4 separate regions of the Homo sapiens genome follow, and all the other regions are linked to region 4. The links are contacts of gene promoters, found by promoter capture Hi-C in blood cells and fetal thymus (Javierre and others, 2016). All regions are on one chromosome and are shown on one strand. Each heading gives the region's core, a stretch centred on a gene start or on the middle of the fragment in contact. The rest is flanking DNA. Distances are from core to core; before and after follow the strand shown.

Region 1 (2,700 bases), core at 147-2,646, 450 kb after region 4:
TTTTCTTCAATAGGGTTATTATATCCAAACAGGCCAACTGTAGTAGAATAAATTGAGAAAATTGTAAAGTGCCATGCCTATATCACTTCAAATGTAACCACCTACCAAATATTCGTGGAATAGATACTTCTACTATTCTTCAAAGTGTTATTCTATTATTCTCTCCCTATTGGTAATCATTGTAAATCAGAATAATATACTTAAACCTCTATTTCTTGTCCTATTCATATAGACAGTATTTACTGATTTCTAACTTTATCTTTTAATGATATTAGTAATCCTACTCTTTTTCACTCCTTTTCATCTTCAACTTCAAAATATCGGTTATCTATAATTTTAAATTTTGATTAATATGGGGATCATATGCATTCATTTATAGCCTTGTAGTCACAAATCTTCCAAATTTCAACAGGTTGAATATAAATGGCAAAAGCAATACATGATATTTATATTATTGTGACTAGGTAAAGCCACATGATCATATTTCCTTTCTAGCAGTTTGCCCTGAGCCTCCACCTACTCCTAGTCCACTATCACATATTTTATAGCCTTTCTTTTATTTTCTTGTATTTGCTGCATCTTTGTCAAGTTCTTCTGATATCTTAAGCTTATTATTAAACTGCTTAGGTCCCCTTTAAGGAAGAGCGGGCCTCAGCAGCTTTTAGTGCTGCAACAAGCTACCTTTCTTTATCAAACAGCCTTTTCTGATTGCCTTCCATTGACCAAAGGCTCACTCTTCAGGGGTGGCCCTCATCTGATGTCTGATCCAGGGAGGGGTACAATGGCTCTCTCACATTTGGCCTAATGGGGAACACCGCAGCCAGACCCTATCAACTCCAGAACTTCCTCTGGGTCAGCTTAAGCTGTTGATCAACAGCTTAAGGTGTTGATGCCACATCACAGTTCCACTTCTCTCTCTGCCTGATGCTGCTTCCCCACACCCCTTTTTAAAAGGTGTTGATCTCTACACAGTTTCTAATAAACATTCTACAATCTTATTTCCATCTCAGTGTCTGTTTCCTGGAGAATCCACTCTGCAACAATGCTGTTTTAGTCTAACTAGCTCCTTGGTCAGTAACCTGGAAATATGCCATTAAACATTATGCCTATACAGCCTGAAACCACTAGCACTGAAGAAAAATCTATCCCACTTGTAGTAAGCTGTCTTCCCTGGAAACAAGTCAGAGTCAACTTAGCAATGCTCCTTTCAGTTTTTTGTTTTGTTTTGTTTTGTTTTCTATTAGAGAGCCCTTGTGTTTTCACGGCAGCCATATCCAGCCGCAAACTGAGACAAAAGGCAAAAGGAGAATTTGGCTTAATATGAGACTGAGATGTAGTTCCCTCCTTTTTCCCTACCCCAATTCCTCTTTCAATACGTCCCCTCTTCTCTCAACACCATATATGACAAATTCTAGCCACAGAGTATCAACATGGGTTTTTCTTTTACTTCACTTTTCCTTATTTATATCTTTTTATAAGTGTAAGCTCATATACGAAGAGGCTTCATCTCCAAGCAGAGAGACCATCAGCTCTGGATTGTCAGTTTTCCACTCAGGCTATCTGTCTATCCATCATCTTACACAAACTGTTGGAACCGTGTTCTATGGGATCACTAGTACTGATGACTCAGTTGTTCCTCAGCACACTTACTGCTGTTTCTAAAACTACAGAGTTTATCCACAATTTCCTATGCATACACCTTTCTAATTTTAAGAGGGAGATACAATTCATAAATTTAAAAAGATGTATCAACTGAAGAATGATAAATTTCATAAATTTGGAAAGGAGAGCTTTACTTTTCATAAAGGTTGCAGCCTGCAGCGTAGCCATTCTGAGAGGCCAGGAAGTGTAACCTCCATCCAGAAGCCAGAAACACACTTTTTGAGGGTCAGAAGAATATGACAGGGATTTATGTTGAATAGACTGGCCAAATACACATATTCAATAAACTATAGGAAGAGTCATGAATATTTATAAGTAGAGAAATGTGGGCATGTGCAGTTGAGTTTCATGTCTCTCTATGGGACCCATGTTCCAAAAATGGGTTAGCATAATTCGAGGATACAGTTTTCAGCCCTGTGGTGTCAAAAGGTGAAGCAAGGGACATGAAAACTTTCATTGCACATGGGAGATGGTGTCCAACCTCCCATCCTGTTATTGCTGGGAACTCAACTTCCAAGCTTTCCCTGAGATCCCCTTGACCAAGACAGAATCCATTCAGTCAGTTGGCAGGCTTAGGATTTCATTTTTGTTTCTCATAGGTGTACTTAACAAAGTAAAAGGACAGCAATCTATATCAAACGGTGAACTATCTCCTGAAATCCTCCCTCCTCCAGCCCACTGATTGACTTGGTGGAATCTACTCCAATCAGGACTGACAGCTCTGTAGCCCTGTTGCAACATCTCATCTAGAGCTAGGTCCACAGTTTCCTGGATCTCCCATCTTCTTTCTTGATTTATCCCCCCAGTTTTAGAGAAGACTTCCTCAAGTGGCCTCTTTGCACTTCTATTAGAGTGTTCTTTCTCTGATTTGTTTTTTCACTCGACTTTCTTCCACCAAAGTTTTATCTTGTAGAAATCTACTGAAGGTATTCATCTGCAGATGGATGCTTTCCTATTCTCTTTGAACTTGGTAACGTATATCTAGAAAGCCCCTTTACTAATGCACTGTTTGAGGAGAAAGGTATGCACATGAGTGCT
Region 2 (2,700 bases), core at 194-2,693, 480 kb after region 4:
TCAGTCAGAGGAAGATATGACCATAGCAGAAACACACAGAGAGATGCAATGGTGCTGGCATTGAAGATGAAAAAGGGGGCCATGCGCCAAGGAATGTGCATGGCCTTTAAAAATCAGAAAAGACAAGGAAAAGGATTCTTTCCTATAGCCTCCAAAAAGGAACACAAAACTTACTGAAACTTTGACTTTAGCCCAGTAAAACCCACGTTAGGCTTCTGACTTACAGAATTGTATGATAATGCACTTGGGTTGTTTCTAGCAGCTCAGTTGTGGTAATTTGTTAGAGCTGCAGTAGAGAACTAGTACAGTAAGAAAAGGTTTTCTAAAAATTAGTGATGTCTAAACACAGAAAGGGCTGTCCTTGAAAAACTAAGCTGCTCATTGCTGGATGGCCATGTTCAAAATATCTGAGCACTATTCATCTGATTCCTGGACAGAGAGGGATGTTGAATATGATGATCTCTAAAGACTAACAATAACCCAAAGTGAAAACTTCAACTCTTTTCTGTCAAGACTTGTTTATTCAAGTGATTATTTCACACAGACAATAGTACCAGTCGAAAGAGAAGTATCTCATCTCCCACTATCAGACCTACCAACCTCATGTACCTAGGATGGTCAGACTTTCCACGTTCATGATGGGGCCATTGGTCCCTTCCTGTTGAAACAAATCCTTCTGCTTAGGCTTGGATTCCATGCTCTTTGATTTGCTCAAGGATATTTTAAATTTTTTTTCCTCTCACTCTTTTTTTCCCACAGCATATTTGTGATAGTCCTCATCATGTGAAAGGGTAACTATTTGTACCAACATCCCTCCTCACCATCAACTCCCACATGATTTTCCTGCTCCTATTTAGAGAAAAACTTCTTCGAATTGCTGTTTGTATTCTTTCATTTCATGTTCTCATCTCATACTCTCCCCTTAATGCACCCCAATTGACAACTTCCTCTCCCTACCTCTCTAAAATAATTATTCTCAAGGTCAGCAATCATCTCAATATTAAGAGTATGTAAATTTAATTCTACTTACTGTTGGTAACTTACAGGACAGTAGGATGACCTAAGGGGTAAAATATTTTTTGGACCACTACTTTGGAGATTTATTAATTTCATAAACACAATTATTTTCAACACTATCCTTCTATACATATCAAGATATGCCCTTTGAAGTGAAAATGGGTAGTGATTATTTTATGCGGTGAACTGGATCAAAATAAACTTTCATGCTTTTAGACTGATGTATCTAAAATTAATGTGTCACGATAACATGACACATTAATTCTTTACCTATGAAAAACTTGTGCCCACTGAACATTTAAACAATACAATAAAACAACAAATCTAACAGCATGTCCCAGCTGACAAGTGGAACTGAGCTAATCTTTGAAAATGGAATAAAACTTAGAAGTTTTACTGTCACATTCAGGGACACATTTAATTTGTTAGAACTTAGCATTGAGAATTGTGTCTATTATAATCAGAACTGGCTTTCAGTCACAAGGATCTTGAATTTTAAGCAGTATGGTGTGCACAATGCCTTAAGAGATAGTCACTGAAAATGTTACATGACTATCTCAAAAAGGTGCAGTCTTTAATTTGTCACAACCAAACTTCACATCCTCTAATAATAAATACATTTACTATTTTTTTCCACGTAGATAACAACGACTTGGTGTGTACTCGTCAATTCTTACATCTTGAGACACAGATATGTCTATTTTTCAAATTAAACAGTATTGTTGTTTCCTTTATTTCCCATTATTTTCTACATGGGCTTTCCATAATCCACAGGACTTTATGATGGCAGAGTCCTTACCTCATTGATGCCAGCAGACTTCAATCTCTTCCATATGACAGCAAGGAAACTAAATAGAAATTGGTCTTATGGCCTCTGAGAGAGACTTCCCTGGAATAATTATATGTACTAATGCCCCTCGACTCTGTGGAGCGTTGTCCTGATCCCTGGACACACTAACCCTGAGGACATCCCTCTTTTCCCCACATTTGTTGCTGCTGTTTTTCTAGGAAATGATGCCACTCTCTGTAAAATCTGCTCAAAATTTAGTGGCTCAGATAAGATTCCAAAATTTTTAAATACTTAGAACATAGCCTGGCCTAGTAAACGATGCTCATATCTGAGGCTGAATTCTGAGCTCAAAGAAAATCACAGTGTAGATTTCTTTAACATTACCAATAAAGCAAACACTTTTATATTCTTCCTAGAATAAATTTTAACAAGCCCTTCATGCTGAAATATACTTTGGGATGAGACTTTCTCTTAACTCTCTACCAGGTTATTACCACGTATGACCCCTTTTTCTTTGTGGCATCAAACTCATCTTTCCTCTCATTCATGCAGTGTTAAAGCTCAAATTTTCATTCACTACTATGTTTGTCTTGAATTGTTTCCTTCTCAATTCTATAACTGATACAGTAGCAACTCATTGTGACTTCTGGTTAATTCCATGCATTTAAAGTTTTAACTGAAACATTTAAGTTAAATTATTGGTAATATTCATTATGCAGATGTAACTTCATAATTAATAATTATGCAGATGTCACCTTGTAATTAGCAAATGTTATAAAAGCCTTACCAAAAAGTCATAGTAAATTGGTTTCATAGAAAAAGAGCTTGAAAATAATGGCTAAATTAGCACTGCAAAGGACTAGAAATCCACATAGGCTAGAGTTGACATTATA
Region 3 (2,700 bases), core at 9-2,508, 470 kb after region 4:
TATAATGAGATTTTCTTAAGATATTAATTGGCTCTTAATAAAATTCAGATTTTGATTTTTAATTTTATATCCTGTTTTGAAAACTTCTCAGAATCATACCTCAGAAGTTCAGCTTCTGTGGTGTCACACTGTTTTTAGCTTTTTCTCTCCTTGAGAAAGCTTGAGGTGACTCTTTCCTTCAGCTTTTTCATCAGCTTCTGTAAGTTTTTTCCTCCAGTTGTAACTATTGTTGTGGCCTGATGTGAAAACATTTTATCTCGAGGGTCTAGAAAAGCAATGTTTTCCTCCAGTATAACCTGATTTTGTCATCTTGGCTTTTCTTGATATGTCTAAATTTTTGAATGTAATCAGAAAACTTCTTATGCAGTTACTAAGAATTATATATTCCCCTGCTATACTCATAATCTTAACACAATCTTCTGATGTCTGATTAAATTCAAGTACTTTTTCATCAGATTTAATTTTCAGGTTATGTAAATGGGCTTCCCATAAGAAGCAGTCACATTGCAGGTTTTTCTTTGCCTTTCTGATAACTCGCTTAAGAGACAACATTTTAGGTTTTATCAAAATAATTCCTATACTCTTTATTAGGTTTTTAATTCCTTAAAAAACTGATATTTAAAAGAATTAATGTTTTACATCTATGTAACCTCCTGTATTGCCTTTAAAGTCTTTTGATTATTACTTGGGTTAAATGAGTAACTATTGTTTTACAATGACCTATGTTTCTGTTGCAATAATATATTTTGAGCCTTTTAACATCTTTGACAAACATCTTGAAGATCAAATCCTAAATTAAGTCTCTCATTTATAGCTGGGGCTTATCAAAGCTATACAAATTTATTCAGACCCTCCAAGTCAGGGATGGGCACACAGATGCCTAAACAGCTGAACAAACTATTTGTGTTTTGGACAGCTAATTTCTACAAGCCAAGATCACATCACAGTAGCTAAATGCACAGAATTTATAGATAAGTCCACTTTATGACCTTATTTTTTGGCTTCTGGATTTTGCCTATTATATTGATTAAAAGGGTTTTAAGGATTAATGAGTGCCTTCCCACCTTCATGCCTGTCTTGCTTAGAGCATTTAATTGGCTTTAATTCTTTTGACTCTAAGGTCCTTGGCCATAAGGATTCCACCAAGGTGTATGATGGACCAGGGGCAGGTATCACACCACCTCAGCATTGATATGGGACAAAATAGAAGGTTGGCCATCAGCACTGCCTCTGGTATACTTTGACAAAAAAGGGAGAATATAAACAAAAAATAAATTAATTCTAAGTCCCCCAGCAGACTGAATGGACCCCTTATCTTGGCTAAAGGAAATCCCAAAGAAACCTAAAAAACCAGTTCAGGCCATGACAGCAAGAAAAGAGTCAGACAAGTTTCACTATACCTTTCCTCACTTTTTTTGATTTAGACACAACTGATCAGCATTAACATTAAAATGGAGATCATAAGGTTGACAGAAAAGGCTTGTTGTAACAAAACACAAAATTATAAACAGGACCTAAGACCATGCCAGGCAGGGGTAAGTCACAGGCTCCTACACTTAAAGAATAAACTATGTTCTAACTGCCATATGGTTTTTCTTTTTCTCTATGTTCTAACTGCCATATGTTTTTTCTTTTTCTCTAGCAGTCAATAAGTTAACTGCCCCACAGCCCCTTATTGCACAAGCAACTGTAGCTTTAATTAAATAAAATATTAATTCCAGTAAGTTTCTCCCGAGAAAAGACCACCAACCATGGACTAGTTCTGCCCAGTTTACAGAAAGTGCACATTTGCATGCCTTTATATCCTAAAAAGACCTTTTGACTCATGAGGCCTAATATAATACATTAAATATTGAGTCTCCATCCCATCTGTGTGTGTGTGTGTGTGTGTGTGTGTGTGTGTGTGTCTGTGTGTGTGTGTGTACATATATATGGGTTATATTGTGAGAGAATATATATATATATATATATATATATATATATATATATATATATATATATTTATGCGTGCATTAGATACTCGTATTTCTGTTATAGATGTCTTTTCTCAGGACTCCATAACAACATAGTTTAGTTAACTTCTTAATACAGATAAGACTCTCATATACAATATAACTGGTATTCTGCTCATTGTTTAACTTGGTTGCTAAGGATTTTATTGCCACTGTACACTGCATAGGGTTGAGGACAGACTTTCTCAGAACCTTTTAGTTCCCTACACCATAATGCTCCAGCAAATTTCTGCTATTAATCTCCTACTTTGTTTCTAATTGAGTTTATTTGGCTTTCTCTTTTTTCTTGGTTAATCTTGTTAATGGTCTATCAATTTTATTTATTTATTTCAAAGAACAAGCTTTTTGTTTCATTTATCTTTTGCATTTTTTATTGTTTCAATTTCATTTGGTTCTTCTCTGATCTTGGTTATTTCTTTTCTTCCACTGGGTTTGGGTTTGGTTTATTCTTCTTTCTCTAGTTCTTTCAGGTGTGAGCTTAGATTGTCCATTTGTGCTCTTTCAGACTTTGATGCAGGTATTTAAGGCTATGAAATTTGCTCTTAGCACCACACTTGCTGTGTCCCAGAAGTTTTGATAGGTTGTGTCACTATTATCATTCAGTTCAAAGAATTTTTTAATTTCCATCTAGATTTCATTGTTGACCCAATTAACATTCAGGAGCAGGTTATTTAATTTCCATGTATTT
Region 4 (2,700 bases), core at 114-2,613:
GCTGTTAACACATGCTCTTAATGACAGTCATTTACTTTCTGACACATTTCAGTTTCTCGACATTAATAATGTGCAGATAATGTGAGATAGAAAAAGCATAGTGAAATTAGACGGAAAATGGGTTTGAATCCGAACTTAATTCTTCATGAAGTGTATAAAGATGAACAAATTGTCAATAGATTCTGAGTCTCATTCATCACTTGTAAATGAGAAAAATTACTACCTTGTAGAATTGCTGTGAGGATTACTGATAATGTATATAACATGCACACAACAGATAGCATTCAGTAAATGGCAGCTAGTATTAAATAGAAATGTAAAATGTCCCTTGAACAGCATCTTCTTGGGATCATCTGGCAAAGTTTAAATCAGAATCCAGAACAAGATGCTTAATTATCAGTAGCAGAGTTCGCGTAGAGGACACGCTACAAAGGAACAGCATGTGCAAAGGCACAGAGAAGTCTGCTATGGAATTGCCTGTAGCTCAGTACAGGTAAATAAAGTGTAAGTGGAGAAATGTTACGGGTCGAGACTAAAGAGCCTGAAATGCAGGTGGAGACCTGCTTTACAGTATTACAGAACCAAGTGCCTCATATGCTTTGCACAAGTCAGGGCTTCAAGAGAGAGGGAAACGATGAACTAAATATAGTAAGTTTAGTACTTTCAAAAAGTATATGAATATATGTATTGCAATGTTCTGTAACGGACAAATGATTTCGAATGCAGACAAGGAGAACTGAGGCAAAACTAACAGGCAGCAGCGACTGCCCGCTCATAGCTGCCAGAGATACTATCCTGCAGGTTTTTTTCAGAGGTAAGAACAGGAAAGACGAGAGAACACGAGAAAACCAGCAATTAAACGGCAAGCAAAGGAATAACCACCAGTAAGTAAGGAAAACCAGCAGAAGGAAAGAGTGGTCAGAAGCTGGTGGAGGACAAGGTCCTGGGGCAGTTTCTAGGCTAAGCAGAGTCGTGTGAAACGCTGGGCAGGAGACACGGGCGGGAAGGCATCCACGGCTCATTCAACCTGGCACTTCGGCAGGTAAGTTTTGGAGGAGCGGGGAGGCCGAAAGCCAGACTGCGTTCACTTATGGTCTTGGTAAAGCAGTGCCGCGCCTCCACTCTGGTGTCGCCGCCAGCCACTCGTGGCCCCGGCTCTGGGGAGTGCGCGGGTCGCTCCTGGCTGCGGAGCGCCCTTTACCTCTGCAAGCCTTTGTCCATGAAGCATACATCCCCGCAGCTGCTGTCGCCGTCTTCGTTTTCCACTTCCGCCTCTGCCGCCACCACCGCCGCCGCCGCCTCCATAGCACTGGCGACGGGGAGCGGGGTCTTAACCGGCACCCAGCGAGGGGTCCGTGAGCTTGGGACAAGCCTCCCGGAAGCGCGGAAGGGCGGCCCGAGGGGGCGGGGCGGGGCGAGGACCCACCCTCCAACCGACAGCCGGGAACTTTCCCGCCTTGACGGTGACGCAAAACTGGAATCCTCGTCCCAACTGTGGGCTTCTTTCGTTTTTACAGCATCTGCGGTGCGACTCTTGAACTTGCTGTAAAGTAAAACTGCTTCCCGGGCGTGTAGGAGCTGGAGAATGAATGGATTTGTCCTGTGTGCTTCTGTATATTTGCCTAGTAGCCGACTGACTTCTGAAGGCGGTTTTCACAGCGGTTTGGCTTTACGTGCCTTTACATAGCCTTACATACGTATAAATTGTTCCTCTGGCCATTGCACCTCCTGTTGATTCATTGAACAATTTGTGGGATGCCTTACTGTATGTCAGTCACTTCCCTGTATGAGGAAGAAAAAGATGAAGCCTATTCTTGTTCCTGGAAACATTCGCAGCCCCATAGAGGAAACAGAATTGCCATACAGTATGACGAATGCTAAGAATAACACAAGGGCATCGAAACCAACTCTAGAGTGATATGGGTAGTGGGTACGTTTTCTAAAAGAAGTGATTGATGACTGAATAGAGTCTTGCTGGGTTAGGGGGAGTTCTGGATGAATGGCATTACAGGTGGGAAAGCAATACCTGTGTGAGGTCAAATAACCCTCCTGGCTAGATTGCTTCCTAAGGCATAGTAATATTTTAAAACGGAGCAAATGGTGCAGTAGTCCATTTGAAGTGGACTATTTCCTTTTGAAATAACTCATATAGACAAAAATAAAAAAGATGTTTTAAAAAATGAGCAAAACCCACATGACATGTAGGACACCATAAAGTGACCAAATATTCAAAATTTTGGAGTCTCAGAAGGCAAAGAGAAAACAATAGAGTTGGAAAAATGGTTCAACAAAATACTATATGAAAACTTCCCAAGTCTAGCAAGAGATTTAGACACCCAGGCACAGGAGGCCAAAGGTTCCCAAACAGATACAATGCAAAAAGGTTTTCTTTTAAAAAAAATTTCATCTCACTTTTTATTTTAGATTCGGGGGTACATGTGCAGGTTTGTTACATAAGTATATTGCACGATGCTGAGGTTGTGGCTTCTAATGATCCTGTAACCCAAATAGTAAATATAGCGCTTGATAGGTAGTTATTCAACTCTTGCCTTCCCCCTTTTGGAGTCCCCAGTGTCTATTGTTCCCATCTTTGTGTTCATGTGTATCCAGTGTTTAGCTGCCACTTGGAAGTGAGAACATATGGTATTTGGTTTTCTGTTTCTGTGTTAATTCACTTAGGATAATGACCTTCAGCTGCAT

Evidence for each region. Contacts are between HindIII fragments. The CHiCAGO score rates a contact against its expected background, and 5 or more counts as called.
Region 1: a contact is called between a fragment that was not itself captured here and the fragment with the promoter of LRRCC1 in region 4, in 1 of 17 cell types (M0 macrophages). The highest score is 5.2, in M0 macrophages.
Region 2: a contact is called between a fragment that was not itself captured here and the fragment with the promoter of LRRCC1 in region 4, in 1 of 17 cell types (M0 macrophages). The highest score is 5.5, in M0 macrophages.
Region 3: a contact is called between a fragment that was not itself captured here and the fragment with the promoter of LRRCC1 in region 4, in 1 of 17 cell types (M1 macrophages). The highest score is 5.5, in M1 macrophages.

What each region holds. Positions count from the first base shown.
Region 1 is chr8:84,657,474-84,660,173 of GRCh38, reverse strand. All of the region lies in intron 2 of RALYL (RALY RNA binding protein like), which reads right to left. Among named protein-coding and RNA genes, the nearest start is that of LRRCC1, 450 kb to the left of the region's middle. The HindIII fragment of the contact is 1,573 bases long and covers 610-2,182 here.
Region 2 is chr8:84,621,828-84,624,527 of GRCh38, reverse strand. All of the region lies in intron 2 of RALYL (RALY RNA binding protein like), which reads right to left. Among named protein-coding and RNA genes, the nearest start is that of RALYL, 440 kb to the right of the region's middle. The HindIII fragment of the contact is 6,465 bases long and covers 1-2,700 here.
Region 3 is chr8:84,638,173-84,640,872 of GRCh38, reverse strand. All of the region lies in intron 2 of RALYL (RALY RNA binding protein like), which reads right to left. Among named protein-coding and RNA genes, the nearest start is that of RALYL, 460 kb to the right of the region's middle. The HindIII fragment of the contact is 2,194 bases long and covers 162-2,355 here.
Region 4 is chr8:85,105,901-85,108,600 of GRCh38, reverse strand. LRRCC1 (leucine rich repeat and coiled-coil centrosomal protein 1) reads right to left here and starts at 1,363. Exons shown (of 19, transcript NM_033402.5): 1 at 1,202-1,363. The coding sequence starts at 1,305. LOC105375933 (a long non-coding RNA gene) reads left to right here and starts at 739. Exons shown (of 3, transcript XR_929117.3): 1 at 739-1,042. RefSeq lists an enhancer at 1,192-1,251. The HindIII fragment of the contact is 5,185 bases long and covers 1-2,700 here.